5 separate regions of the Homo sapiens genome follow, and all the other regions are linked to region 2. The links are contacts of gene promoters, found by promoter capture Hi-C in blood cells and fetal thymus (Javierre and others, 2016). All regions are on one chromosome and are shown on one strand. Each heading gives the region's core, a stretch centred on a gene start or on the middle of the fragment in contact. The rest is flanking DNA. Distances are from core to core; before and after follow the strand shown. Region 1 overlaps USP14 (ubiquitin specific peptidase 14). Region 2 holds the start of TYMS (thymidylate synthetase). Region 3 has its middle 12 kb from the start of THOC1. Region 4 overlaps THOC1 (THO complex subunit 1). Region 5 overlaps USP14 (ubiquitin specific peptidase 14).

Region 1 (5,356 bases), core at 1,453-3,952, 460 kb before region 2:
GTAATCCCAGCACTTTGGGAGGCCGAGGCTGGCGGATCACAAGGTCAGGAGTTCGAGACCAGCCTGGCCAACATGGTGAAACCCTGTCTCTACTAAAAAAAATGCAAAAATTAGCCAGGCATGGTGGCATGCTCCTGTAATCCCAGCTACTCGGGAGGCCCTTCTGTGTTCAAGCAGTTCTCCTGCCTCAGCCTCCCGAATAGCTGGGGTTACAGGCTGAAGTGAGCGGATCATGAGGTCAGGAGTTGGAGACCAGAGCCTGGCCAGCATGGTGAAACCCCATCTCTACTAAAAAAAAAAATACAAAAAATTAGCCGGGAATGGTGGCGTGTGCCTGTAATCCCAGCTACTCTGGAGGCTGAGGCAGGAGAATTGCTTGAACCCAGAAGGCGGAGGTTGCGGTGAGCCGAGATCGCGCCACTGCACTCCAGCCTGGGCAACGGACCAAGACTCCATCTCAAAAAAAAAAAAAATTAAGTAAGTTTTTGTTTGTATTAATTAAAATTAATTTACAGTCGCGTGTATTAAATATGTGACTGTTTTACTAAGGCAATGTTTGCTTTGTCTTTAAGCCCTTAGAGATTTGTTTGATTCCATGGATAAAACTTCTTCCAGTATTCCACCTATTATTCTACTGCAGTTTTTGCACATGGCTTTCCCACAGTTTGCCGAGAAAGGTGAACAAGGACAGTATCTTCAACAGGTAATTAGGGCAAGGTATTTTTCATTCTGTAAATGTAAAACTTAGGTTTCCTACATTTACCGTACTTACTGGAACATAGTTCGAAATATAAACATCAGTCTTCTCTAGTTCATGCCACGGCTGTCTCTTGCCTGGAGCCGCACAGTAGTCTTAACTGATATCTGGCTTCTGCCTTTGCCCCTTTGCAGTTTCTCTACACAGCCCGCAATGTCCTTTTTAAAATGACGATAGGATTATGTTGGCCCCTTGTTCAGTACTCCCTAGTGATTTTCTACCGCAGTCCTAAATCCTCTAGCCCCTGGCTTTCTCTCTGAGTTCATCACTACCACTCTGTCCCTTGCTTGCCTCTCTCCAGCTGCACAGGCTTCCTTAAACCTTTCAAGTGCCCTCTTCCTGCAGGGCCTTTGCTCTTGTTCTTTGGCTGTCAGATAAGTGCAAGACCAGCTCCCTCACCTCCTTCAGGTCTCATGGCTCCAAGGCCAAAGCCTTAGGCTTTCCCTGATGACCTTATTGGAACAGCACACTTCCCTTCCCCTGATCACTTACTGTTTCCATCCTGCTTTTTTTCGCTTCATAACCCTTATCTCTACTTGAATTTTATATATTCACTGCTATTATGCTGAGTATCTAGTACAGTGTTTAGCACAAATTGGAGCTCAGCAGATGTCTGTTGAATGAATAAGCTATTCTAGAATGCTTTATTTTTTGGAAGATCGTATGTCTTATTTGGCTTAATATTTTTAAAGAAGGAAACCACTTTCTTGCCTAGGAGACAGTGATTATTTTGGAAGAACTTTGTAGATCATTCACTGCCAGGATTACTTACTTTGTCTTTTTTTACATTACAGGATGCTAATGAATGTTGGATACAAATGATGCGAGTATTGCAACAGAAATTGGAAGCAATAGAGGATGATTCTGTTAAAGAGGTAATTGAAATATATTTGTGATTATAGACTTTCGTTATACCTTGATTTTTTTTTTTATTTTTTTTCCCCTCAAAGGCTTAAAATAAGTTCCATCTTATAGGTAGATGTGTATTTAAATACTTTAGATGCTCAATCTGTAGTCAGAATTTGGAAGCTTGCATACGACATTTAAATTTAATGTATTATTTATTAAACTTAATTCATTGTTGATTTTTGGTAATGTTTTTTGAAGGATTTTACTGTAAGGGACTACATTTTTAAAAAAATATGTATTACTAAACTGGATTGTGTGGAAGAAAATCTACATTAATATTTATATAAAGTTGGAATTTTTATTTTAATTTTTGCAGACAGACTCCTCATCTGCATCGGCAGCGACACCTTCTAAAAAGAAAAGTTTAATCGATCAGTTCTTCGGTGTTGAGTTTGAAACTACGTATCCTTATGAGCCAAGATATAGACTATACTCATACCTTATTAGAATTGGCATAAATAGCATCATTGGCTGATTGATTGGTGGTGGGTAGAAGAAAAATTCTTCAGAGGTTTTTTTTCTTTGAGACGGAGTTTCGCTCTTGTCGCCCAGGCTGGATTGCAATGGTGTGATCTTGACTCACTGCAACCTCCACCTCCTGGGTTCAAACAGTTCTGCCTCAGCCTCCCAAGTAGCTGGGATTACAGGTGCATGCCACCATACCCAGCTAATTTTTTGTATTTTTAGTAGAGATGGGGTTTCACCCTCTTGGTCAGGCTGGTATTGAACTCCTGACTTTAGTTGATCTACCCACCTTGGCCTCCAGGTGTGAGCCACCGCGCCCAGCCCAGAGGTTTTTATACCTAAAAAAATACAATAATGGAAATTAGGAATTTGGAAAAATATACCTATTGGAGTGATCTTGAAGGATAATGGGATTATTCATTATGTTTTGATTAATATAATTATTTTAAATTTATTTCTTGAAGGATATTTATTATTTTTTCCTAAGAACATCTTTAGCAGAGTCTACCTCATTTTCATTCACCTTATAAAGAATTAATTTCTTATATGTCAAGGTGACTGTTAATAATAACTTTTAAAATAAAAAAAGAATTTTTTAATTTTATAAAAGGGTGTGTATCAACTATACATGAGATTGAACCAGTTAATAAAACATGAATCAGGAAAGTACTGTCTTCTAGGTCATGGTTAGAAAAACTTAGAAACAATTTATGTACCTTTGGGCTTCTAAGACCATTATAAGACCATACTAAATACCAGCTTATAGTTTAGAGTTTATTGCAGTTTATCTTTTAATACACATTTATTACTCATTGTTGTTTCTAGAATTGTTGGTAGCCAAATGAACATTCTTAAGTATGTTGAAATGAATCTTGGGAGACTAAAAGGTTTTAAATGCCAATGAATGATACTATTAATTTTAATGGAATTAGGATAATGTATTATATTCAAGAGTATATAACAAATTGAATACCCGTTGGCATATTCCTTATCTTAGTTTACAAAGCATGAAATGTACAGAATCTGAAGAAGAAGAAGTCACCAAAGGAAAGGAAAATCAACTTCAGCTTAGCTGTTTTATCAATCAGGAAGTCAAGTATCTTTTTACAGGACTTAAATTGGTAAGGACAATCTCAGTCCATCCTTGTTGTTTGTGAATTCCATGTTTGCGAGTAAGCCAAAGTCATTATTCACTGGGCTTTAATGGTCATTTGTAGACATGTGCAGAGCAATACGCATTTTGAGTTGCCCGATACACACAGTCCCATCTGAGGTCAAACAAGTACTTGGCCTTCTTGTTTCAGCTTGGTAAACAAATACCATTTTAGCAGGAATGTTAGAACTGTTGTTTTAAAAAAAAATTTCTGCTTTTTGTTGGTTATTTCACTGTTTAAGATGACCCCCCAAGCACAGGGCTGAGTGCTGTCTAGTGTTTCTAGGTGTGGGAAGGCTGTGATGTGCCTTACTGAGAAAATATACTTGTTAGAGAAGCTTCAGTTGGGCCTGCGTTGCACTGTTGGCTCTGAGTTCAATGTTAATTAATCAACACAATATGTGAAATAAGGTGTCCTTAAACAGAAACACACATAAAACAAGGTTATGTATTGATTGGTTGATGAAAATGTTGTGATCAAAGGCTGGCGGGAATCTAATCCTGTATTTCCCCTAGGAGCAGTGGTTCAGTATTCATTGATTCAGTGCTTGTGGTGACTTTGTAGAACATAATTACCGTGACTAACAAAATCAACTGTATAGTCAGAAATCAAACAAACTTCAACTAGCTCTTCATTTCATAGACAAAAGCATTATTGACATGGTTGCATATGCTAACAAATATTGGGACATCTCACTTTTTAATCACTGGGTGTTCCTGCTTCACACTGTGAAGAAGCACCTAGTGCTTTGTGCTGTACCTTGCTTTATTTTAAAGCACTCAAGAAATGTTTGTTGAATAGTTTACATGTTTGTTAAGATTTTTCCTTAGAGATAGTTGTTTTCATGGGCCCTATAACTTAGCTGAACTGTTAACTTTAAGGAAAATTACTTAATCTAAGCTACTGTTTTCTTACGTGAAAATGAGAGTAACTATAGGGTTGTTTGTGGGTTTGTGCTCTTAACCATTAAGGGTGATCATATAATGTATTGTCTAAACCAGGACACTTTGGTGGAGAGTGAATGAGGGTATGTTAGTAATTATGCAATATAAACTGGGATTTTTCTGTGCAAATCAGGGCATGTAGTCGTTCTGCCATTGCACTGTCTTGCAGTTGAGGCCCTGGAATTTAAAGTAACCTAATTGGCTTTTGGCAGAGCCAGAACTAGAACTTGCTTCTTTCATTATTCAGTTAGTGCTGCTTTTCCAGTGCCATACTAAAGAATACGGACTCACATAAAATGTCAGCTTCCACTCTGCTAATAAGCCCATGGATAAAACATACGGTTTTGCTTGCTGACTTACTAATTTGGTGTGCTTTGGGGATATGTATATCTCTCGAAGGATCTCCCCATTTGAACTGATACCTTTTAATAGTTTTCAAATTATAGTTCATGTGATTCCACTTCAAAAGCACTGATAATTAGGATTGTTTATTTTATTTTATTTTATTTATTTATTTACTTATTTTGAGACGGAGTCTCTCTCTGTCACCCAAGCTGGAGTGCAGTGGCACAATCTCGGCTCACTGCAACCTCTGACTCCCAGGTTCAAGAGATTCTCCTGCCTTAGCCTCCTGAGTAGCTGGGACTACAGGTGCGTGCCACCACACCTGGCTGATTTTTGGTATTTTTGATAGAGACAGGGTTTTGTCATGTTAGCCTGGATGGTCTCAATCTCCTGACCTTGTGATCCGCCCACCTCGGCCTCCCAAAGTGCTGGGATTATAGGAATGAGCCACCGTGCCCAGCCAGGATTATTTATTTTAAAAGTTAGCTTCTTCCTAAACACAGTTGTATGAAAAATAAATGCATGAATAAAAGTTAGCCATTGCAACATCTAGATATTTGAAGAAGGGCCTGGAGGGCAGAATTTTTAAAAATCCTGGTTGATCCTCTTTGCTGTCTCCTCTAACCATGACCAATAAAGAGAAGTCTTGAAGGAAGAAAAGTCAGTGAAAAATGATGAGACATTGGAATAGGTCCTCTGTGCAGAGGCCTAGTTTGGGCAGAGGAGGTGGGTTGATAAACACTGAAGTGGGACATGGATTATGTTGATAAACAAGATGATTT
Region 2 (6,141 bases), core at 3,642-6,141:
TGAGAACTACATTAATCCATAATGTGTGGCTCATGATACTCATTGATAGATGGTAGTAGCAACAATAAAAAATAATATTATCAAGTAACTGATTCATAATTGACTCTCAAAAACGTTAATTTTCTGCTTTCCTTTACCTAAGTTTACCTACATGTTTGAATTTGTAAAGGGAAGGTTTTTCTAGACCAATAATTTTCAAATATTTTTGCTCTCATACTTCCTCAAAGGAAACTGAAAAAGTTGCAACATACTTGCATGTCATTTTTCTATATAAGTTGAAAGAATAGCAAATTGTTATTTTCCCACGCATCGTAAAGATTAGCAGGTCATCCCTCTTTAAAATGTACCAAATGGAATCTAAATATCATCGCAATTTGACCCAGCATCATCCATTTAAACAAATATACAAGTTTTTCTTTAACAATGAGAAATTTTATCTCATTACATTTTCTCCCTAAACTCTTATTTCAATCTACATTCCTAAGAATTTTATCCTAATGTAGTATATTTTTATGCTTAAATATCTTTTGTTGATCAACACAATTTTGATCATTTTTAAATTTTAAAAATTAAGAACATCCTGTGACATCAAATTCTAGGTATGAAATATTTATTCTAGATTGGGTGATCATTATAATTATTTTTTGTACATAATTGATCAAAATAACATAAATATACTACAAATTTCTATGACTACTAAACATATAAAAGTAAAATTTTAAACAAATATATCTCTTAATGAGAAGGAAGAGCTTTTTATACTCCAATAAGTTAACGTATCCACTAATAATTATTATTTCTTCCTAGAACAAGACAGGATTAAGCATCATGACCGTCCCTATTGGGGGATGTTTTTATAGATGCAAGCACTGTGGCACCTACTGGTATAAATGCACCTGCTGATTGGAATGTTCTTTCCCCAGATCTTCCCCTGCTGGTTTCTTCCCAGTATTCAGGTCTCAGCTCAAATGTGACTTCCTCAATGAGGCCTCCTGGTGATCAGATCTAAAGCACCCTCTACACAATCACTGTTTAGTGCTATACCCATTAATTTACTATCATCACACTTGTCACTATCTGCAGATGTCTTGTTTGGTTACTTTTGTAGTGTTTGTCACTGCCAGAATATCAGTTCTATGAAGAAAAGGGCCTTGTCTGTCTTGCTGTTTGTAGACATGAGGAAGGCACCATGATATAAATGTGTGTTAATGAATGAATGAATGAAATTTGTCTGAGAGAACCATTCATTCTAACCAACATTTATGGAGTAACTACTTTGAAAAGAACCATTCTGTCTTTACTATCAAGCCAAGATACTCAAGGAAGGCAGCAGAAGTGGAAGCTCCATGTGGGCAGAGGAGCCTAGTCTTGAGATGTGATTTAGCTGGTATTTGGGTGAAACAAATAAACCAGCCTCAAAATAACACAAGGGGCCGGGTGCAGTGGCTCACGCCTGTATCCCAGCACTTTGGGAGGCTCGAGGCAGGCAGATTACTTCAGGTGAGGAGTTCGAGACCAGCCTGGCTAACATGGTGAACCTCCATCTCTACTAAAAATACAAAAACTAGCTGGGCATGGTGATGGGTGCCTGTAATCCCAGTTACTCGGGAGGCTGAGGCAGGAGAATTGCTTGAGCCTGGGAGGCAGAGGTTGCAGTGAGCTGAGATTCTGCCACTGCACTCCAGCCTGGGTGACAGAGCGAGACTCCGTCGAAAAGAAAAAAAGAAAGAAAGAAAAAAAACACACAAGGATGTGCAACTGATGCAGGGCAGGTGAGCCCAGAATTGGGCTTAGCTCAGGAGGGTTCTTGGTTTTGCTCAGGAAAGAATTTAAGAGCTACCTGGTAGAAGAAAAGCTCTACTGATATGGCAACAGCTCCCTGAGTGCCCCTGTAGAGCAGAGCTACCCTATAGGCAGTGTGCTGACAGCAGTAGCTTAAAGGCAGGTCTGCAGTGATATTTATAACCTACTTTCAATTACATGCAAATTAAGGGGCAGATTATGCAGAAATGTCTAGAAAAAGGGTGGTAACTTCCGGTTGTCGGCTCACTGCCATGGAAAGGGGCAGTAAGCTCTGGATGTTGCCATGACAATCGTAAACTGACATGGCACACTGGTGGGCACGTCTTATGGAAAACTACTTCTGCCCCATCCTTGTTTTGACTACTCCTCAATTTGGTCCCATGTCAGAGCCCTGCCTCCAGAGTCAAGCCCTGTCTACCTCACAATTATTATGTATCAGGTTTTTAAAAAATAACACAAGTAAGGCTGGGCATGGTGGCTCACGCCTTTAATCCCAGCACTTTGGGAGGCCGAGGTGGGCAGATCACTTCAGATCAGAAGTCTGAGACAAGCCTGACCAACATGGTGAAACCCTGTCTCTCCTAAAAATGCAAAAAAAAAAAAAAAGAAAAAAAAATTAGCTGGGCATGGTGGCAGGCGCCTATAGTTCCAGCTACTTGGGAGGCTGAGGCAGAATTGCTTGAACCCATGCAGCGGAGTTTGCAGTGAGCTGAGCACCACTGCACTGCAGCCTGAGGGACAGAGCAAGATTCCACCTCAAAAAAAAAAAAAAAAAAAAAAAAGGAAAAAGAATAACACAAGGAAATTAAACACAGATAACGTGCATCTGGATAATCTGGAATATTTTCAGCCTGGGATCTTCCTCGTGCTCGGAAACGTGTAGGGAAACGTGTAGGGACAGTTTTCAGCTGGTGTGGGGTGGGGGAATGCCAACATATGGTTGGCTTTCCACAGTCCTGCTAAAGCCCTGCAATGTGCAGAACAAACCGGTCCAGCTAAGAAAAGTCCCACCCAAAATGCTGAGAGCACCTCTGTACTCAATCAACCGTTGAGGTAAAAGGATGCTTGCAAGTACAACACATGTATCAGTGCATTTTAAACTCATTATAAAATCGTTCTGTAAACCAAAAATAAAATTCTACGCCCAGAACCATCTGAAAAGACCACTCCTCTGGGTCAAAGGCATTCCAAATTTAACCACAAAAACTAGTTCAGGCCATGATGGGAAGGGGAGCCAGACATGCCTCATTATTCCCTCCTCCGTTTGGAATTTAGGCACAGCTGACCAGCATTGACATCAACACAGGCCTCAAGACAGGTAGAACACACTCTTTAAGTCTGACAAGAAACATTTACAATCTATCTCTCTAAAGCCTGCTACCTGGAGGTTTAATCTGCATGATGAATCCATGGTCTCCACAACCCCTTATCTTAACCCAGATATTCCTTTCTATTCATTCAAATCTTTTTTTTTTTTTTCCCCATACGGCTCTGTCACCCAGACTGGAGTGCAGTGGCGCTTTCTCAGCTACTGCAAGCAACCTCCGCCTCCTGGGTTCAAGCGATTCTCCTACCTCAGCCTCCTGAGTACCTGGGGTTACAGGCGTGTGCCACCTCGCCCCACTAATTTTTGTATTTTCAGTAGAGAGGGTTTCACTATGTTGGCCAGGATGGTCTCAATCTCCTGACCTCGTGATCTGCCCGCCTCGACCTCCCAAGTGCTGGGATTACAGGCGTGAGCCACCGCGCCCAGCCCTCTATTGATTCCAGATCTTTAGATAACAATTCTTTCAACCAAATGTATAAAAAATCAAGTTGTAGCCCAACCACCTTGGGGACATGTTCTCAGGATCTGCTGAGGGCTCTATCACCGGCCATTGGTCACTCATATTTGGCTCAGAATAAATTTCTTCAGATATTTTACAGAGTTTAACTCTTTTCATCAACAGTTCCCACTCCCCAGTGTTAATGTTATAAACAATTCAGTAAAACTGGGAAATGTGGTCTATTAAAAACTTGGGGCCGAGTGCGGTGGCTCACGCCTGTAATCCCAGCACTTTGGGAGGCCAATGTGGGTGGATCACCTGAGGTCAGGAGTTTGAGACCAGCCTGGCTAACATGGCGAAACCCCGTCTCTACTAAACATGAAAAAAAAAAATTAGCCGGGCGTGGTGGCGGCGCCTGTAGTCCCAGCTACGCGAGAGGCTGAGGCAGCAGAATTGCTTGAACCCAGGAGGCGGAGGTTGCAGTGAGCCGAGATCGCACCATTGCACTCCAGCCTGGGTGAGAGAGCGAGACTCTGTCTCAAAAAAAAAAAAAAAAGACCGCCAGGGCTCAAACAAAAAACCTCGGAAAAGCCCTGGCGGTCTTTTTTTTTTTTTTTTTTTTTTTTTTGGGACAGTCTTGCTCTGTCGCCCAGGCTGGAGTACAATGGTCGGATCTTGGCTCACTGCAACCTCTGCCTCCCAGGTTCAAGCAATTCTTCTGCCTCAGCCTCCCAAGTAGCCACCACGCCCAGCTAATTTTTGTACTTTTAGTAGAGACGGGGGTTTCACCATGTTGTCCAGGCTGGTCTTGAACTCCTGACCTCAGGTGATCCACCCGCCTCGGCCCCCCAAAGTACTAGGATTACAGGCGTGAGCCACCGCGTCCAGCGCCCTGGCGGTTTTTAATCAAGTAGAAAAGCTGCATTATACCACTTGCTTCGGTTGCTTCAGTGAGAACGAAGAAATGGAAATGCAAATCCCTTATTAGTTGTAGGAAACAGATCTCAAACAGCAGTTTTGTTGACAAGACCGCAGGAAAACGTGGGAACTGTGCTGCTGGCTTAGAGAAGGCGCGGTCGACCAGACGGTTCCCAAAGGGCGCAGTCCTTCCCAGCCACCGCACCTGCATCCAGGTTCCCGGGTTTCCTAAGACTCTCAGCTGTGGCCCTGGGCTCCGTTCTGTGCCACACCCGTGGCTCCTGCGTTTCCCCCTGGCGCACGCTCTCTAGAGCGGGGGCCGCCGCGACCCCGCCGAGCAGGAAGAGGCGGAGCGCGGGACGGCCGCGGGAAAAGGCGCGCGGAAGGGGTCCTGCCACCGCGCCACTTGGCCTGCCTCCGTCCCGCCGCGCCACTTGGCCTGCCTCCGTCCCGCCGCGCCACTTCGCCTGCCTCCGTCCCCCGCCCGCCGCGCCATGCCTGTGGCCGGCTCGGAGCTGCCGCGCCGGCCCTTGCCCCCCGCCGCACAGGAGCGGGACGCCGAGCCGCGTCCGCCGCACGGGGAGCTGCAGTACCTGGGGCAGATCCAACACATCCTCCGCTGCGGCGTCAGGAAGGACGACCGCACGGGCACCGGCACCCTGTCGGTATTCGGCATGCAGGCGCGCTACAGCCTGAGAGGTGACGCCGCGGGCCCCTGCGGGACGGGTGGCGGGAAGGAGGGAGGCGCGGCTGGGGAGAGCGCTCGGGAGCTGCCGGGCGCTGCGGACCCCGTTTAGTCCTAACCTCAATCCTGCGAGGGAGGGGACGCATCGTCCTCCTCGCCTTACAGACGCCGAAACGGAGGGTCCCATTAGGGACGTGACTGGCGCGGGCAACACACACAGCAGCGACAGCCGGGAGGTAAGCCGCGTCCCAGCGGCTCCGCGGCCGGGCTCGCAGTCGCCCCAGTGATGCCGTGGCCCCCGAGGCGGGCGTCATCGGGCAGCGTTTGCCCAGTGCTGGAGGGTTAGGGAGAGCTGCCTGGGCTTGACCGCGCGCCGGTCTCAAAGTCCTGGCTTTGGCCCCTCCTCCGTTTTCCCCTGTGGACCATTCCGCTTCGCAGCGTTTTCAAAAACTGGAGCGAAAGTGATGTGGGCGGGGCAAAGGCGGCGGGAAGAGGAGAGCACTGAAGCTGGCGCGGGAACTTGGTTTCCTGGTGGCCTCCCATCCAATCCCCACGAACCAGCTTTCCTCTTAAACCTTGAAAAGAGAAATTCGGGAGTTCGAGTATAAGTTCTTAGTCGTCCTTTCCTCTTTCCTTTCCGACAGGAGCACCCCAGGCAAAAAATGTCTCGCGGGTCATTGGCGCCAGGCTTTCAGGGGACAGTGGGGCGGGGCGGGGTGGGCACAGGACGTTAGGCAGCCGTTGGCCCTCCCTAAGGCCACACCGTCCTGCCGTCCTGGATCCTGCGCCAGCTGCGCGGGGGAGGGGACTCGAAGGTGTGTGAGCCAGGGGCTGACCTTGACCGCTCAGATAAATGGAGCGCAGCCTTGACACAGGGGTGGAGGTGGTTTTGAATGGGGAAACCCATTCGTGGTGAAGCAGATTCACTGTAGCTAGCGGAAAAGCCCTCCGGCCCACGGACCCATCTAG
Region 3 (5,885 bases), core at 1,949-4,448, 380 kb before region 2:
CTTAATAATTAAACAATAATCTAATCAGGAAAACATAACAGTCCTAAACATGGATCTATTTAAAAACAAAACCTCATATGAAGCAAAAATTGGCAGAACTGAAAGGATAGAGAAATCTATAATTATAGTTGGAGATCTTAATACATTTCTCTCAGTATTTGATAGAACATATATAAAAACATACAATATTTGAACGCTATTTTCAAACTTGACATAATTGATATTTCTAAAACAGTACACCCAACAAATGCAGAATGAATTTTTCAAGTACACATGGATCATTCACCAAAATAGACCATATGCTTGGTCATAATGTGAGTCTCAAAACAACCAAAGGATTAAAATGATACAGAATTCGTTCTCTTACAATAATGGAATTTAGAAATGAAAAACAAAGGATATCTAGAAAAATCAACTATTTGGGAATTAAGCAACAAAATCCTGAAAGAGCATAGGTCAAAGAAGAAATCACCAGGGAATTTAGAAAATATTGTATACTGATGGTAATGATAATGATAACTTACCAATATGACTGGGTGCAGTGGCTCACGCCTGTAATCCTAGCACTTTGGGAAACTGAGGCAGGCAGATCACTTGGGCCCAGGAGTTCAAGACCAGCCTGGGCCGCACGGTGAAATCCCGTCTCTACCAAAAATACAAAAATTAGCTGGGCGTGATGGCATGAGACTGTAATCTCAGCTACTTGGAAGGCTGAGGTGGGACGATGATTTTATTCTGGGAGTTGAAGGTTGCAGTGAGCCAAGATCATGCCGTTGCACTCCAGCCTGGGTAACAGAGCCAGACCCTGTCTCAAAACATCAAAAACCAAACAAACAAACCCAGAAACTTAGTAGTATTTGTGGATGCAGCTAGAGCAATGACTGAGCAAAATCTATAGCTTTACCATATTTTATTTTGTAGTATAATTTGTATACCTTGGATGCATATATTAGAAGAAAGGTTAAAATCAATTTAGTAAATGTCCATCTCAAGAAGTGAGCAAAAGAAGAGCAAATGAAACCCTAAGAAAGTAGACAAGTAAATAATAAATATAAGGACAACAGAATAGAAAACAAATAATAGACAAAATGAACAAAACCAAAAGTTGGTTTTTTGAAAAGATTAATAAATTAACCTTTAGCAATATAATCAAGAATAAAATAGAGGAGCAAAATTATCAATATCAGAAATGAAAAAGGGACATTGTTACAGATCCTACAGGCATTAAAAAGATAATATGATATGCCAGGAATGGTGGCTCACACCTGTAATCCCAGTACTTTGAGAGGCTGAGGCAAGAGGATCACTTGAGCTCAGGAGTTTGAGACCATCCTGGGCAACACAGGGAGGCCCTATCTCTACAAAAAAATTAATTAAAAAAATTAGCCAGGCATGGTGGCACACACCTGTTGTCCCAGCTACTTGGGAAGTTGAGTCGGGAGGATTGCTTGAGCCCAGGAGTTGGAGGCTGCAGGGAGCTACAATAGTGCCACTGCACTCCAGAGCAAGACCCTTTCTCAATAATAATAATAATAATAGGTTATTATGAAAAACTTTAGGCCCATAAATTGGAAAATTTAGAAGACAGAAAATTTTTGTAAAACACAAGTTACTAAAACTGACAAAGAAAAAATAGAAAATATGAATAGTCCTATATCTGTTAAAGAAATGCAATTGGTAATCAAAAGCTTTCTCCAGAGCAAACTTTAGGTCTAGATGGCTGCGTTGGTAAATTCTACCATACATTTAAGGAAGAAATGATACCAATCTTACACAAGGTCTTTAGAGAATAAACAGTGAGAAACCATCTACCAACTTGTTTTGTGAACCTAGCATAACTCTGATATCGCAACCTTAAAAGTACATTACAAGAAAATAAAATTACAGATAAATATCCCTTATGAACTTAGGTATAAAAGTCCCAAAAGAAAAAAGGAAGTCCTGGCTGGGCACGGTGGCTTATGCCTGTAATCCCAGCATATTGGGAAGCCAAGGCGGGTGGATCACTTGAGGTCAGGAGTTTGAGACCAGCCTGGCCAACATGGTGAAACTCCATCTCTACTAAAAATACAAAAATTAGCTGGGCGTGGTGGCTTGCACCTGTAATCCCAGCTACTCGGGAGGCAGAAACACAAGAATTGCTTGAACCTAGGAGGCAAAGGTTGCAGTGAGCCAAGATGATGCCCTTGCACTCCAGCCTGGGTGACAGATCAAGACTCTGTCTTAAAAACCTAAAAAAACAGAAATCCAATAAAATTTGAAAAGGATAGTATATCATGACCAAGTAAGGTTTATTCCAGGAATATAGGCTTGATTTAACATCTGGAGTCAGTCTATATCATTCACTGTTATCAGAATAAAGGAGAAAAATATAAATATAAGCATCTTAATAAATGCAGGAAAGGTGATGAAATTCAATGTCTATTCACGATTTTTAAAAACTCAGCCAACTAGAAATAGATGGGAAATTTTCAGTCTGATAAAAGATGTCTTTAAAAATCTTTATCTAACATCATGATAGTGAAATATTAAAATCGTTGCCCCTAAAAAGCCTAGAACAAGATGATGTCCACGTTCACCCAGTTTTATTCAACATTATAATGAAGGTCTTAGCCATTGAATTAAGATTTTAAAAGGCAACAAAAGGCACAGGATTGAAAAGGCACAAGTACAGCATCTTTATTTGCAGATGACATGATTATTTACATAGAAAATTAAAAGATAATAAAGGTATATAGGCCGGGTGCAGTGACTCTCACCTGTAATCCCAGCACTTTGAGGGACCGAGGTGGGAGGATCTTGAGGTCAGGAGATCAAGACCATCCTGGCCAACATGGTGAAACCCTGTCTCTACTAAAAACATAAAAATTAGCTGGGCATGGGGGGCGCATGTCTGTAATCCCAGCTACTCGGGAGGCTGAGGCAGGAGAATCGCTTGAACCCGGGAGGTGGAGGTTGCAGTGAGCCAAGATCGTGCCACTGCACTCCAGTCTGGTGACAGAGACTCTGTCTCAAAAAAAATAATAATAAAGATATATAACTCAGTATGAATAAGTTAATATAGCAAGATTATAAAATAAGATCAATCTATATTTTTATTTCTACATAGTAATTCTAAAAATTTGGAAAATAATATTAAAAATCACACTGTTTACCATTGTATAAACCTCAAGTACCTAATAATGAATTTCCTAAAAGATGTACAAGAATTTTAAATTATTGCTGAGATAAAGAAGATAAAATATTTCTTCTTTATAGGAGAAATTTCAAGCCTGGTGAGACACACTGTCTTAATGGTTTGTCTTTGAACAGACAAATCATCTTAATGGTTTTGAAGATTAAATATTATAAACATATCAATTCTCCCCAAATTGGTCATAGATTCAACACACTCTTAGTAAAACTCCCAGCATACTTTTTGTAACAATTGAGTAGCGCGATTCTAAAATTTACACAGACATGCAAAGGAATTTTAATAGCTAAAATAATCTCGAAGAATAATAGAGGAATTACACTACCAGATTTTGAGACTTTATAAAGCTACTGTAATTAAGGTAATGAAATAGTGTCATAAGGGCAGAAAAGTAGACCAAAGGAACAGAACAGAGTATGCAAAAACAGATGCAGACTGTTGGTTATTTGGTTTTTGACAAAAGTGAAAATAGAATCCAATATAGAAAATGAAGATCTATGTAATACAGGCATGCCTTGTTTTACTGTGTTTTGCTTTATTGCGATATTGTATTTTTGTTGTTGTTGTGGGTTTTTTTTTTTTTTTGGTGGGGGTGTTTGAGACAGGGTCTCACTTTGTCACCCAGGCTGGAGTGCAGTGGCACAGTCACAGCTCACTGCAGAGTCAACCTCCCAAAGGCTCAGGTGATCCTCCTACTTCAACTTCCCGAGTAGCTGAAGTTCATGCCACCACATCCACCTAATTTTTGTATTTTTTGTAGAGATGGGGTTTCACCATGGTGACCAGGGTGGTCTTGAACTCCTGGGCTCAAGCAATCCTCCCACCCTGGCCTCCCAAAGTGCTGTGAATACAGGCATGAACCACTGCATCTGGCCTGTTTCTTTTGTTTGTTTGTTTTTTCTGCAAGTTGACTGTTCATGGCAACTCTGTGTTGAGCAAGTCCATTGGTACCATTTTCCCAACATCATGTGCTCACTTTGTGTCTCTGTGTCACATTTTTGTAATTCTCTCTATATTTCAAACTTTTTGGTATTATATCTGTTATAGTGATCTGTGATTAGGGATCCTTGACGTTGCTATTATAATTGTTTTGGGGTGTCATGAATTGCACCCATATAAGACAGCGAACTTAATCAGCAAAAGTTGTGTGTCTTCGGACTGCTCCATTGACTGCTGCACCTACTGCCGTTTCCTTGTCTCTGTTCATCTCCTTGGGCCTCCCTATTCCCTGAGACAAGACAATATTGAAAGGAAGCTAATAACCCTGTAATGACCTCTACATGTTCAAGTGAAAGGAAGAGTTGCACATCTCTTACTTTAGATATATTTTTTGAAATAGGGTCTCACTCTGTTGCCCAGGGTGGAGTAACAGTGGCATAATCATAGTTCACTTCAGCCTGAACTCCTGGCCTCAAGTGATTCTCCTGCCTCAGTCTCCCAAAGCGCTGGCATTACAGGTGTGAGCCACCAAGCTGGGTCGGATGTCCTCACTTTAAATCAAAAGCAAGGAATGATTAAGCTTAGTGAGGAAGGCATGTCAAAAGCTGAAACAGGCCACAAGCTATGTCTCTTGTGCTAAACAGCCAAGTTGTGAATGCAAAGGAAAAGTTCTTTTTTTTCTTTCTTTCTTTTAAAATTTTTGCTTTTTTTTTTTTTCAGACAGGGTCTCACTCTGTCACTCAGGGTAGAATACAATGGCATGATCATGGCTCACTACAGCCTCGACCTCCCAGGCTCAAGCCATCCTCCTACCTCCGCCTCCTAAGAAACTGGGACCACAGGTGCACCCTACCATGCCTGGCTAATTCTTAAATTGTTTGCAGAGATTGGGTCCCACTATGTTGCACAGGCTGGTGAAAGTTCTTGAAGGAAGTTAAAAGTGCTACTCTAGTAAACACATGAATGATAAGAAAGTGAAACAGACTTATTGCTGATATGGAGAAAGTTGGAGTGGTCTGGATTGAATATCAAACTCTCCGCAACATTCCCTTAAGCCAAAGCCTAATATGTAATAAGGCCCTAATGCTCTTCAATTCTATGAAAGCTGAGAGAAGTAAGGAAGCTGCAGAAGAAAAGTTTGAAGCTAGTAGAGGTTGGTTCATAAGATTTAAGAAAAGAAGCCATCTCCATACCATAAAAATGCAAAGTGAAGCAGAAAGTGCTGATGGAAGTTACAGCAAGTTATCCAGAAGATCTAGCTAAGATCATTGATGAAGGAGACAAGACAGCCTGATATTTGGAAAAGATGCCGTCTAGGACTTTCACAGCCAGAGAGATATCAATGCTTGGCTTCAAAGGACAGGCTGACTCTCTTGGTAGGGGCTAATGCGGCTGGTGACTTTAAGATGAAGCCAATGCTCATTTACCACTCTGAGAATCTTAGAGCCTTTAAGAATTATGTGAGTCTACTCTGTCTTTGCCTGGATGACAGCACATCTGTTCGCAGCATGGTTTACTGAACATTTTAAGCTCATTGTTGAGATGTACTGCTCAGAAAAAAGATTTCTTTAAAATATTACTGTGCATTGACAATGCACCTAGTTGCCCCAGAGCTCTGATGAAGATATACAAGTTGATTAAAATGTTTTTATGTTAACACAACATTCATTTTGCAGCCCATGGATCAAGGAGTAATTTCCAAGTCTTATTATTTAAGAATTACATTTTGTGAAAAAAATTACATTTAGTAAGG
Region 4 (5,857 bases), core at 1,233-3,732, 430 kb before region 2:
AAATACAGAGGTAAATCAAAGTGGTTGTACTCTTACAAAGTTCAACTTACATTTTTTATGTGAAATATATACATGTATTTTTACATGCTATAATCATATCGGAGCACATTTTCAAAAGCCTTTCTCGTCGTTCTTGTGATGAGTATGTATTTACCTTTCTTTCAGTATGTATTTACCTTTCTTTCACAAAACTTGGGCAACCTTCATTTTTCCACGAGTTCCAGTTTTCTTCAGTGTTTAATATATGCTGGGAAAAACAAAGCGATTACATTTTGGTTAGTGGAATCCTCTGAAGTTCTATTTCGTGCTAAGAAGAGGATGTAAGCATAAAAAACACATACCTCTACCATCTTTGAAAATCTTTCTCCATCGGGGGGGTTTTCAGATAGTAGCTGTGATTAGAAAGAATATACTAAGCTTTCAACAACTTTCTGCATCATAGGAGTGGTTTGTAGGCAGAGAACCAAGGAGTGTTTGTGGTCTTGTACCTGAGCTTAACTTTATCCTTATTTTCCTATTTGGGGCTGAAACAAAGAAAATCCTAAATTTCCATTTTTTCAATCATGGGTTTGTTGCGTGTTGAACTTACTTGATAAACTGATTTTGTAGTATCTTCAATCCAAAGTGATTGCTCATCAGTTAAAACATAGTTTGAACTAGGGAACAAAGCAATGAAAGCATGCTTGAGTTACAGCAATGCATATGCAACTTTAAGGTTTAAAAAACACAAGGCATGTAACATGTAACTATACTGTGGATAGTGTCAAAAATTACCAAGACAAGAATAATCACAAATGAGAGGATTATAAGAGAAAATTCTTGCACTTCTTCCTCAAGAGGGTTGGTACTGAAGACATAAAAGCATATGCAGGGAATAAAACATTCAATTAATCAATCAGATTCACTATGAACAGAGCAATATATGTTTCCTAAAATAAGCTGAGTGTGAAACGAAAACTTCTGATTTGATATTAAGATATGTGTATACATGATGCACATTCAGTATGGCATGCTACATTAAGATTCATTCAAAATACAACGAATAAAACACCCAAACCCTAGAAAAGGCAACAGGCAAACCCAAATTGTTAATAGCTGCCACTAACTGAGCTCTCATAATGCACTAGGTGATTTAAAGACATCCAATAAATATTGATGGCTAGGATCTGAACACTTTACATACATTATTCATTGAATTCTCGGAACAAGTACATGTACATATTAAACAGAGACTACCGTGTCTCACTGATTTGCCCAAGGCCATAAAGATTTAATTCAAACCCACGTCTCACTTCAAAGTCCCTCATCTTCCTACTATGCTATACCAAACCTCCAAAATAGATAGAAGGATAAGAAATAACATTTTTTGAGTGTTTACCATGTGCTACTACCTTAAAATTACAAGTCTGAAAGAGCTGCACTGCAGCCAGCAAATGACGAGCCTGGGATTCAAACCCAGCAGGTAGTGAAGTCATTATACAACTAATACGGCATTGCTCAGTGTCCTTAACACAAATACCGTTAAGTAACAGTGGGCTCCACCTTCAGTTATGGACAGGATAGGAGGAAATGGATGGAAGTATTTAGATAGACAGTAGAGAGCCTAATGAGGTTTTGTGAAACCCCAAATAAATGAACTCCTTTTTGCTTAAAAATTTTCTTTGCATCTTTTAGCTTGAATGTCCTGCAGAGCTCCACACCTTGTGAGATATGTATTACTGGCTTAGTCTGCAAATCAGCTTTGGAGGAGGTCTGAGGGAGGTGAGAAGGGAATGACGGAATTTTGGAGCAGAGACCTCCACCTGCTAATAAAGACGACAACTCCTGGCAAGCCCTGGAGTTGGGCAGGAAAAACTCACACTGACAGATATATTTAACATCTTTTCCTTAAATATCCTAATATCGAAAAGCCTTCAATGTATCAGCTGCAATACATGTGTTTTAGGGATACAGCCTTAACATGAAATGGACACATACATAAGAAAAATCGTAAGCAAGTCCTTTTTTTTCTTGGCTACTGTTTACAAATTGTTTACTACCCATATTATCTTACCTTTTGAATTTGACCTGCCCCTTGAGATATTGGAATAAAATGAGATACTGCAACAGGATGTGTCGACGAAAGTTACTGTCACTCAGTTGTAAATCCATCAGCTACTCAAGAAACAAGCAAACACATACGAAAACAACACATTAAAATCAAGTTTTTCCTAAAGGTACAAAATGTGCTAATATAGAAATGGAAGATTCCAATTCAATTTAAAAGCCATTTGTTGAGAGTTCACTGCATGTGAGGCATTACCGCACAAGCCCAAAGACAGCCCAGTCAAGGTTTCACTTAGATTTCTTGACTGTTTTATGCCATGACACATTCTTGCTGGTGGATAACAATGATCTATCTATGGTCCAGACATGAGGATAAAATAAAGCAGAAATAGAAAAAAGTAAGCTGGGCATGGTGGCACAAAGCCTATTATAGTCCCAGCTACTCAGGAAGCTGAGAAGGAGGATCACTTGAGCTCAGGAGTTCGAGATCAGTCTGAGCAACATAGCAAGACTCTAAATTTAAAAAAAAAATTTTTTTTTAAAGTAAAACTGAGGCTACTACTTTCTCACATATGAAGAAATAATGGCTAAAGAAGATACGGATAACAGCACAATATCAACGGGGACCACTCATTTTTGTAGCCCTATAAAGTGCCTGCAACAGAGGTATTACTTGACAATAAACAAGAAATTAGAGGTGAAGATCATCTCTGATTAGATGGGCTTTTTTTTTTAGCTTTTAGTGAAAATTGCATCATACTTGTATTATCACAGAATCTGGATTAGAAAGGACTTGAAGGTCACTCATGAGGAAGTTCTTCAACGACCCTGCCATCCAGCTGTAAGAATAACCTGCGGCGATGAAGGAAGGTCATTCTGATTATGTGCATGGAACACTGAAGGAAGGCTGAAGTCTGTATCCACAAACTCATGCTAGTTCTGCCTTCAAAAACTACAGTAACAAAGGAAAGCCACGTTCTTCTAAATGAATCGCCAGTAAGGCAGCTGGAAGCGTCGAAGATTGGTTTTGGTTCAATGTCCCAAGTGCTGGTGGCTCTGCTTTACGTGGTTGGTACCATTTACTAATGCTACCTAACACGCACAAGCCTCCCTATTCACTAGCAACCCCTTCCACACTGTGGCTCCAGGTCTTAAAAAAAAAAATTAATGATCAGCCTTCCAGTCAGGTTTCCCTCACGTTTAAGGATTGAATATATTTGATTGTTATTTATATTAACTCTCCTATCCCAAATTGGAAATGTGAATGGCCGGCCATCAGCCTTCCCTTCCTCCAGCCCCTGGGCAACTTGACTGTCTCCACTCAGGCTGTTAGTTCCTTGCCCTTAACTCCACGGACAGGCCCATCTCTGCTCCAGCTACCCACTACTGTGGCCACAGCTAGACCTGGGGTCACTCACAGCTGCCCCAGATCTGAAGTCTTCAACTCACAATCCTATCTCACCACAACCTCTATCCTTCCCAGGTCTCTCGCTCAGTTGCTTCCAATATACCTAATATTTGGATCTTACCGAGACTTTAAGGCCCTTGACCCGTCTATTCTCTGCCTGTTAGTCCCATCCCATTTTATTATAATCCTATTTTAGTCTAGATAAGGGGTCAGCAAACTTTTTCCTGAAGTGTCAAATAGTAAGTATTTTTATTAATAGGTTATGTGGGCTAAGAGACATATTATGGATATTATGTAGGTATTTAAACATCTAAAATGTAAGGGGGAAAAAAAAACCAAAATCACCAAAAACAACCAACACAGGTGGTGGGCCAGATTTGGCCTATAGGCTATAGTCTGCCAACTCCTGGTCTAGACTTCATGGTTAATCTCTTCGGCCATTTTCTTGCCAACTTCAACACACTTGTCCCATATTTCTTCTGTCATGTCTAGTGAGCAAACAGCAACCTTGAATAAACCAACTGTTAGTCACCTTCTCTATACCAACCCTCAGGATTCCAATCTCAGCTGAAAGTGAGGTGCCTGAGTGAATACCCCAAATTACACAGCTATGCAGAAGGCACCACTGGTATGTTGTCACCACCTTAAACATCTGTTTTTAATCAGCAATCTTTCTTTATTCTTCAAGGCCATTCTCTCTCCTACTCTTCACAGTAATGATTTTCAACCCTTTCCACTTAGCAAAAATACTACTTTACCACCCCTTCTCACTTTCAGTAGATAACTACTTTTGCCTTCAATGAGAAGAAAAATTAAATTGGAAAGCATTTCATTTCTTGGCCCCCAAAATGACAAATCAGCTGCACCTACACCTTTGTTTACTTCATTTCCTTCTGTCACAACTCCTTCACGGCTAAAGGTATTCCATCTGGATTACCTTCCATCTGGAATCCCAATATCCCTAACAATTGAGTTCCATCAACTAACTGCCCTGGTTTCTGTATCTACAACCTATTCTTTCCAAGCTCCTTTCCATAAGCATTAAATAAGCTCCCTCAAAAATCTCCCACATTCTCACCTAACCCTTTAACAGCAAAGCTTCTTAAAATAATTGACTATAGGCACTGTTGCCAATCAGCTCCTCAACCTGCTATCATCTGACCGCCTCATCCACTAATCCATTGAAAGTGTTTTTGTCGGCTGGGTGTGGTGGTTCACGCCTGTAATCCCAGCACTTTGGGAGGCTGAGGCGGGCGGATCACAAGATCAGGAGTTCGAGACCAGCCTGGCCAACATGGTGAAACCCCGTCTCTATTTAAAAAAAAAAAAAATTAGCGGGGCGTGGTGGTGCATGCCCTGTAATTCCAGCTACTCTGGAGGCTGAGGCAGGAGAATAGCTTAAACCTGGGAGGCGGAGGTTGCAATGAGTCCAGACCATGCCACTGCACTCCAGCCTGGGCAGCAGAGCAACAATCGGTCTTGGGGCGGGGGAAGAAAGTGTTTTGTCAAGATCACCAATGACTTATTTGTTGTTAAATCCTGTGAACACTCTTTACTGTCCTCATCCTACTTGATATGCTTGGCTTCCATGAGTGCATGCTTTTCTAGTTTTTCTCTAATCTCACAGGTTACTCTTCAATCTTCTCCTCTTCTCCCTTCATTCTCCCTTAAACATGGGTTTTCTTCGGGATTTCAGTATTTTCTTCTCTTCTGAATCTACACTCTCCCCTTTAGCTCATTTCATACACTCTACAGTTTGAATTACCATTTATAAACTGGTAACTCCTACAACTATACTCTCAACCTAGATCTTGTTCCTAGTCTCCAGCTTTGTACACTAGACAACCTATCACACATCTCTACCTGAATGTTCAACTGACACCTGATCAGATTTCATGAACAAAGTAAAACATCAATTTCCTCCACAAAAGCTGTTCTCCAGCATTGGCTAATTCAATGAGAGGCTCCAACATCCATTTGCCCAAGCAACTCTAGGAAGGCTTCCTGGAGAAAGCAGCATCTAAACTCTCAACAAGGAACAAACCTAAAGGTGGAGAGTGGGGGTTGGGGGATGGGGGTGCAAGAAGGGGAGCCAAATAAGAGACTGGCCTATTTGAAGGACCGAAGTACACAGTTCAATACATCTGGAGTAGAGATGTGAACCCCTAGCTTAAAGAGACGAACCAAAGTGGCTAGGTGATGCTTACTAGCTGTTCATTTTATTTTTTTATGTTGAAAGATTTTCCTTGATAGAAACAATGGATTGAAAATAGGAGTCAACAAAACACTGAATCAGGGGTGGAAAGGACCTAATGTGATTCAAGCTAACTGCTTCACATTATACTTAAGGAAACTAGGTCCAGAAAAGTTAAAACTACCTAGGCAAGATTACACAGCTAGTTA
Region 5 (5,303 bases), core at 1,600-4,099, 490 kb before region 2:
TATATAGGTAAACTTGTGTCACAGGGTTTCAATGTACGGATTTCATCACCCAGGTACTAAGCATAGTACCCGATAGGTAGTTTTTTTTTTTTTTTAGATCCTCTTCCTCCTCCCACTCTCCACCCTCAAGTAAGTTCCAGTGTCTTTTGTTCCTGTCTATGTGTCTATGTGTTCTCATTATTTAGCTCCCACTTACAAAAGAGAACATGCAGTTTGCTTTTCTGTTCCTGCATTAGTTTACTAGGGAACTAGCAGGTAATGATCTCCAGCTCCATCCATGTTGCTGTAAAGGACATGACTTTGTTCTAAAAGCATCATTTAAATTTTATTTTAAAATGTGTTGTATTACCAGATACCTCTGTGGGTCAGGAGAGTGGAACACTTTACAGTTATCTGTATTGTGTGAATTTTTTTTCCTATGAGGATGTATTAAAAGTATTAGTTTTATTTTGTTTAGACTAAAATGAAACCAATTAATATTTCCTTAGTAATTTTCTGTAATGAGGTTGGAAAATTTTATCTCAGTTTAAAAATGTGGAACAATACAGATAGGTTTGTTTTCTTAAAAAAACTACTACAGAATGTAATTTTGTACATGCATTTGTATGTTGAAATTCAAAGCACTTCAGCATTTTTACCAAAGCCCTGGTTCTGGAAAACTGTTCATTTTTTTTTTTTGGCCTTTATTGCATCCTACCCATTAACGAAGAGCTGTTTTTCTTTTTCTTTTTTTTTGAGACGAGTCTTGCCCTGTTGCCCATGCTGGAGTGCAGTGGTGCTATCTTGGCTCACTGCAACCTCCGCCTCCTGGGTTCAAGCGATTCTTATGCCTCAGCCTCCTGAGTAGCTGGGATTACAGGTGTCTACCACCATGCCCGGCTAATTTTTGTATTTTTAGTAGAGATGGGGTTTCACCATGTTGGCCAGTTTGGTCTTGAACTCCTGACCTCAAGTGATCTGCCCACCTTGGCCTCCCAGAGAGCTGGGATTACAGGCGTGAGCCACTGCACCCAGCCCCCTTTTTTCTAAACAGTAATTGTTACCTAACTCCTACCTGGAGATGGGAGGAAAAAATTTTTGTTTAAAAAGAGAAGAAACCTAATTTTTGTCTTTACTTCCTTTGGAATGATCTCAGTGACCACAGTTAAGAATCCATCCCTGCCAGCATCATTGATGAAGGACTGCAGAAAAGACAAGAAGATATCTATTATTATTATTATTTTTTTTGGGATTGAGTCTCCCTCTGTCACTCAGGGGCTGGAGTGCAGTGGCGCCATCTCGGCTAACTGCAACCACCGCCTCCCGGGCTCAAGTGACTGTCCTGCCTCAGTCTCCCGAATAGCTGGGATAACAGGTCACCACCACCATGCGTGACAAATGTTTGTATTTTTGGTAGAGACAGTGTTTCACCATGTTGGCGCTGGTCTCGAACTCCTGACCTCAAGTGATATGCCTGCCTCGGGCCTCCCAAAGTGCTGGGATTACAGGCGTGAGCCACCACACCCGGCCTCTATTATTTTTAATAATATAAGTATAGCTTTAAAAAATACTTCCTTCAAGGGTTAGATAAAATGCTAAAGATCTATAGTTAACTTTAGAGATAAAGACAGGCTACCCCCACTGGGCAGTAAAACACACGTTGGAGGAAAATCTTTGTTTACCCCCGAAGGTACAGTATGAACCTTTGGCCTTTAGTGAACTTCATAGCCTAATCTATGCTGAACACTGTACTAGTGGTATGCTGTCGAGAATTATAGAAGTATGCGAATTAAATGAAACTGTGACTGCTAATGGTTACCATTTATTGAGTACTTATTTTATGTCAGGCTTTTATTATATTTTCTTTAATTCTCAGCTGTATGTTATCCATATCTTATATATGAGGAAATTTTATAAATGAGTGTCAAAGAGGTTTAAGTAACATAGTAAGGCACCAAAAGAGCATATGATTTATACATCAAGCAGATCTGTGTTCACTTCCCAGTTTTGTGTGACCTTGGGTAAGTGATCTTAGGGGGCATTTATAGTTATCATTCATTATGTTTAGCAGTCATAGACCTTAAATTGAGAAGGGCCTTTAGGAAGTTACCGTTCCATTTTAAAGCAGATAAAAGAGATAATTAGTGGCACCAATGAAGGGTAGACAAGCATATTGGGTACCCGATACCTTCTATAAAAGGGAGTAATATAGAATCGACTTTATCCTATGAGGGGAAAGGCCTAGCTGTAGTTAGTAAAAATATTACTCTGGACTAATCATGCATTTAAAAAAAAAATTCTTGATTTTTATTCAACATATTGAAAGGAAAGTATATACTTGCTTTATAGATGCGTTATAGACATTAACTCTTCATTCTTGCCACGTAAGCTTGTTATTTATTAGCTCTGCTGGTTCCAAACATCCAAAAAATAGGATCTATCATTTGTCATTAGTCAAGTGTTTTTTAGTACTTGCTAAAAGTATTTTTTTATACTTATGTGTTTTTTAGTATTTGATGCTGTAAATACAGGTTACTGCCTTTTGTATTGTGTTACCTTATGCAGTTGAAGCAAATTATTTGAAACCCTGGCTTTAGTACCACTTGTGTTTAAAAAAAATTTTTGTTTTTTTTTGAGATGGAGCCTTGTTCTGTTGCCCAGGCTGGAGTGCAGTGGTGAGATCTCGGCTCACTGTAACCTCTGCCTCCTGGGTTCAAGCAATTATCTTGTCTCAGCCTCCCGAGTAGCTGGAATTACAGGTGTGCACCACCATGCTCAGCTACTTTTTGTATTTTTAGTAGAGATGGAGTTTCTTTATATTGGTCCGGCTGGTTTCGAACTCCTGACCGCAGGTGATTTGCCTGCCTCAGCCTCCCAAAGTGCTGGGATTACAGGCGTGAGCCACTGTGCCTGGCCAAAAAAAATTTTTTTAATTGCCATAATTTTAAATAAAATCTGCATATAGGATAAATTTTATTCTGTTTTGAAGTACATTAAAATAAATTGATTATTAGATTGTGTTCAGCTTGTACAGTGGTGGTTAAATGTCTTTTGTTTGTCTTTGAAACAGGATGATGATTGGGGAAACATCAAAATAAAAAATGTAAGTATTATCTTATGAACGTTTATTATAATGCAGTAACCTCATTATGATACCAAAATACATTCCAGATGACTTTTTTTCATGTGTATATCCAGTTGTTCCAGCACTATCTGTTGAAAATACTTACCTTTTCCCATTGACTTGTGTTGGGCTCTTTCTTGAAAAGTAGTTATAGGTTTGTTTTTGGGTTTTTGTTTCATTGATCTAGTAGATTAAAGTTACACTAGTACCAAATGGTTTTGATTACTAAAGCTTTATAATAAAAGCCTTGAAAAAAAAATTAGCTGGGTGTGGTGGTGCACGCCTGTAATCCTAGCTACTCGGGAGGCTGAGGTGGGAGGCTGAGGCGGGAGGCAGAGGCAGGAGGCAGGAGAATCACTTGAACCTGGGAGGCGGAGATTGCAGTGAGCCGAGATCGTGCCACTGCACTCCAGCCTGGCAACAGAGCGAGACTCCGTCTCCAAAAAAAGAGTCTTGAAATAAGATAGTATATGTTCTTATGCTCTCCAACTTTCTCCTCTTTGAGATTTTGTTTGAGATTACATTGAATCTGTAGCTCAATTTGGGGAGAATAAACATCTTAACAATATTGAGTATTAAAATCCCTGAATATGATGTACTTCCTTATTTATTTAGGTCTCTGTTTTTCTCTTAGCAGAGTTGTAGTTTTTAAACATAGAGGTTTTGCATGAGTGGTTTTTTTTTTGAGACAGGGTCTCACTCTCACGTATGCCGGAGCACAGTGGCATGGTCATGGCTCGCTGCAGCTTTAAACTCCCAGCCTCAAGCAGTCCTTCCATCTCAGCCTTCCAAGTAGCTGGGACCACAGGCGGGTGTTACCATGCCCAGTTAATTAATTAATTTTAATTATTTTTTGTAGAGATGGGGGTGTCACTATGTTGCCCAGGCTGGTCTTGAACTCCAGGGCTCAAGCGATCCTCCTGCCTTGGCCTCCCAAAGTGCTGGGATTAACAGGTGTGAGTCACTGTGCCCAGCCCTTGCATGACTTCTCTTAAATTATTGGAACTTAACATTTGTTCGCTGCTTAAAATAATATTAAAAAATATTTCCAGTGTTCATGGCTAGAATGTAAAAATACAATTGATTTTTCTCTCTTTTTTTTTTTTTTTTTTTTGAGACAGAGTCTCACTCTTATTGCCCAGGCTAGAGTGCAATGGCGCGATCTCGGCTCGCTGCAACCTCTGCCTCCCGGGTTAAAGCAATTCTCTTGCCTGAGCTGGGATTACAGGCGCCCACCACCACGCCCAGCTAACTTTTGTATTTTTAGTAGAGATGGGGTTTCTCCATGTTGGTCAGGCTGGTCTCGAACTCCCGACCTCAGGTGATCCGCCCACCTTGGCCTCCCAGAGTGCTAGGATTACAGGCGTGAGCCACCGCACCCGGCCAAAATACAGTTGATTTTTCTAAGTTTATTTTCATTCTTTATTCTTGTAAGCAATTCACTTACTAATTCCAGTTGTGTTTTGGGCAGATTCCATTGGGTTTTCTGTGTACATAAACGTGTTATCTGCAAATAATGACAATTTTACTTCTCCCTTTTCAATATTCGTGACTTTCAGATTTCTTAAACTTTATTGACATATAATTGATAAGCAAATGACTTCTTTTTTTTGAGACAGAGTCTTGCTTTGTCGCCCAGGCTGGAGTGTGGTGGTGTGATCTTGGCTCACTGCATTATTTGCCTCCTGGGTTCATGTGATTCTCCTGCCTCAACCTCCTGAGTAGTTGGGATTACAAACGCCTACCACCATGCCTGGCTAATTTTTGTATTTTTGGTAGAGACAGGGTTTCGCAACGTTGGCCAGGCTGGTCTCGAACTCCTGACCTCAAGTGATCTGCCTGCCTTGATCTCCCAAAGTGCTGGAATTACAGGCGTGAGCCACTGTGCCAGGCCTTGTCCTACTTTTTAATAGGACTTCTAATACAGTGTTAATAGAAAGTGATAAGAGTGGCCGGGCGCGGTGGCTCACGCCTGTAATCCCAGCACTTTGGGAGGCCGAGGCGGGTGGATCACGAAGTCGGAGATCGAGACCATCCTGGCTAACATGGTGAAACTCCGTCTCTACTAAAAAAAAAATACAAAACAATTAGCCGTGCATGGTGGCAGGTGCCTGTAGTCCCAGCTACTCAGGAGGCTGAGGCAGGAGAATGGCATGAGCCTGGGAGGCAGAGGTTGCAGTGAGCTGAAATTGTGCCACTG

The links. Contacts are between HindIII fragments. The CHiCAGO score rates a contact against its expected background, and 5 or more counts as called.
Region 1: a contact is called between a fragment that was not itself captured here and the fragment with the promoter of TYMS in region 2, in 1 of 17 cell types (M1 macrophages). The highest score is 6.6, in M1 macrophages.
Region 3: a contact is called between a fragment that was not itself captured here and the fragment with the promoter of TYMS in region 2, in 3 of 17 cell types (M0 macrophages, M1 macrophages and monocytes). The highest score is 8.9, in M0 macrophages.
Region 4: a fragment that was not itself captured here is called in contact with the fragment with the promoter of TYMS in region 2 in 1 of 17 cell types (M2 macrophages); the score reaches 6.4 in M2 macrophages.
Region 5: a fragment that was not itself captured here is called in contact with the fragment with the promoter of TYMS in region 2 in 1 of 17 cell types (M1 macrophages); the score reaches 5.1 in M1 macrophages.

What each region holds. Positions count from the first base shown.
Region 1 is chr18:196,065-201,420 of GRCh38, forward strand. USP14 (ubiquitin specific peptidase 14) reads left to right here. Exons shown (of 16, transcript NM_005151.4): 7 at 573-703; 8 at 1,552-1,632; 9 at 1,983-2,068; 10 at 3,138-3,252. Among named protein-coding and RNA genes, the nearest start is that of USP14, 40 kb to the left of the region's middle. The HindIII fragment of the contact is 1,836 bases long and covers 1,785-3,620 here.
Region 2 is chr18:652,762-658,902 of GRCh38, forward strand. TYMS (thymidylate synthetase) reads left to right here and starts at 4,892. Exons shown (of 7, transcript NM_001071.4): 1 at 4,892-5,186. The coding sequence starts at 4,982. It overlaps TYMSOS (TYMS opposite strand RNA), which reads right to left and starts at 5,530. Exons shown (of 2, transcript NR_171001.1): 1 at 5,081-5,530. RefSeq lists enhancers at 4,616-5,117, 5,118-5,617, 5,485-5,604 and silencers at 4,855-5,034, 5,205-5,254. The HindIII fragment of the contact is 8,200 bases long and covers 1-6,141 here.
Region 3 is chr18:276,882-282,766 of GRCh38, forward strand. No RefSeq gene overlaps it. Among named protein-coding and RNA genes, the nearest start is that of THOC1, 12 kb to the left of the region's middle. The HindIII fragment of the contact is 3,024 bases long and covers 1,687-4,710 here.
Region 4 is chr18:224,748-230,604 of GRCh38, forward strand. THOC1 (THO complex subunit 1) reads right to left here. Exons shown (of 21, transcript NM_005131.3): 12 at 2,054-2,154; 13 at 590-656; 14 at 342-392; 15 at 177-247. Among named protein-coding and RNA genes, the nearest start is that of THOC1, 40 kb to the right of the region's middle. The HindIII fragment of the contact is 4,135 bases long and covers 416-4,550 here.
Region 5 is chr18:163,738-169,040 of GRCh38, forward strand. USP14 (ubiquitin specific peptidase 14) reads left to right here. Exons shown (of 16, transcript NM_005151.4): 3 at 3,050-3,082. Among named protein-coding and RNA genes, the nearest start is that of USP14, 7.8 kb to the left of the region's middle. The HindIII fragment of the contact is 966 bases long and covers 2,367-3,332 here.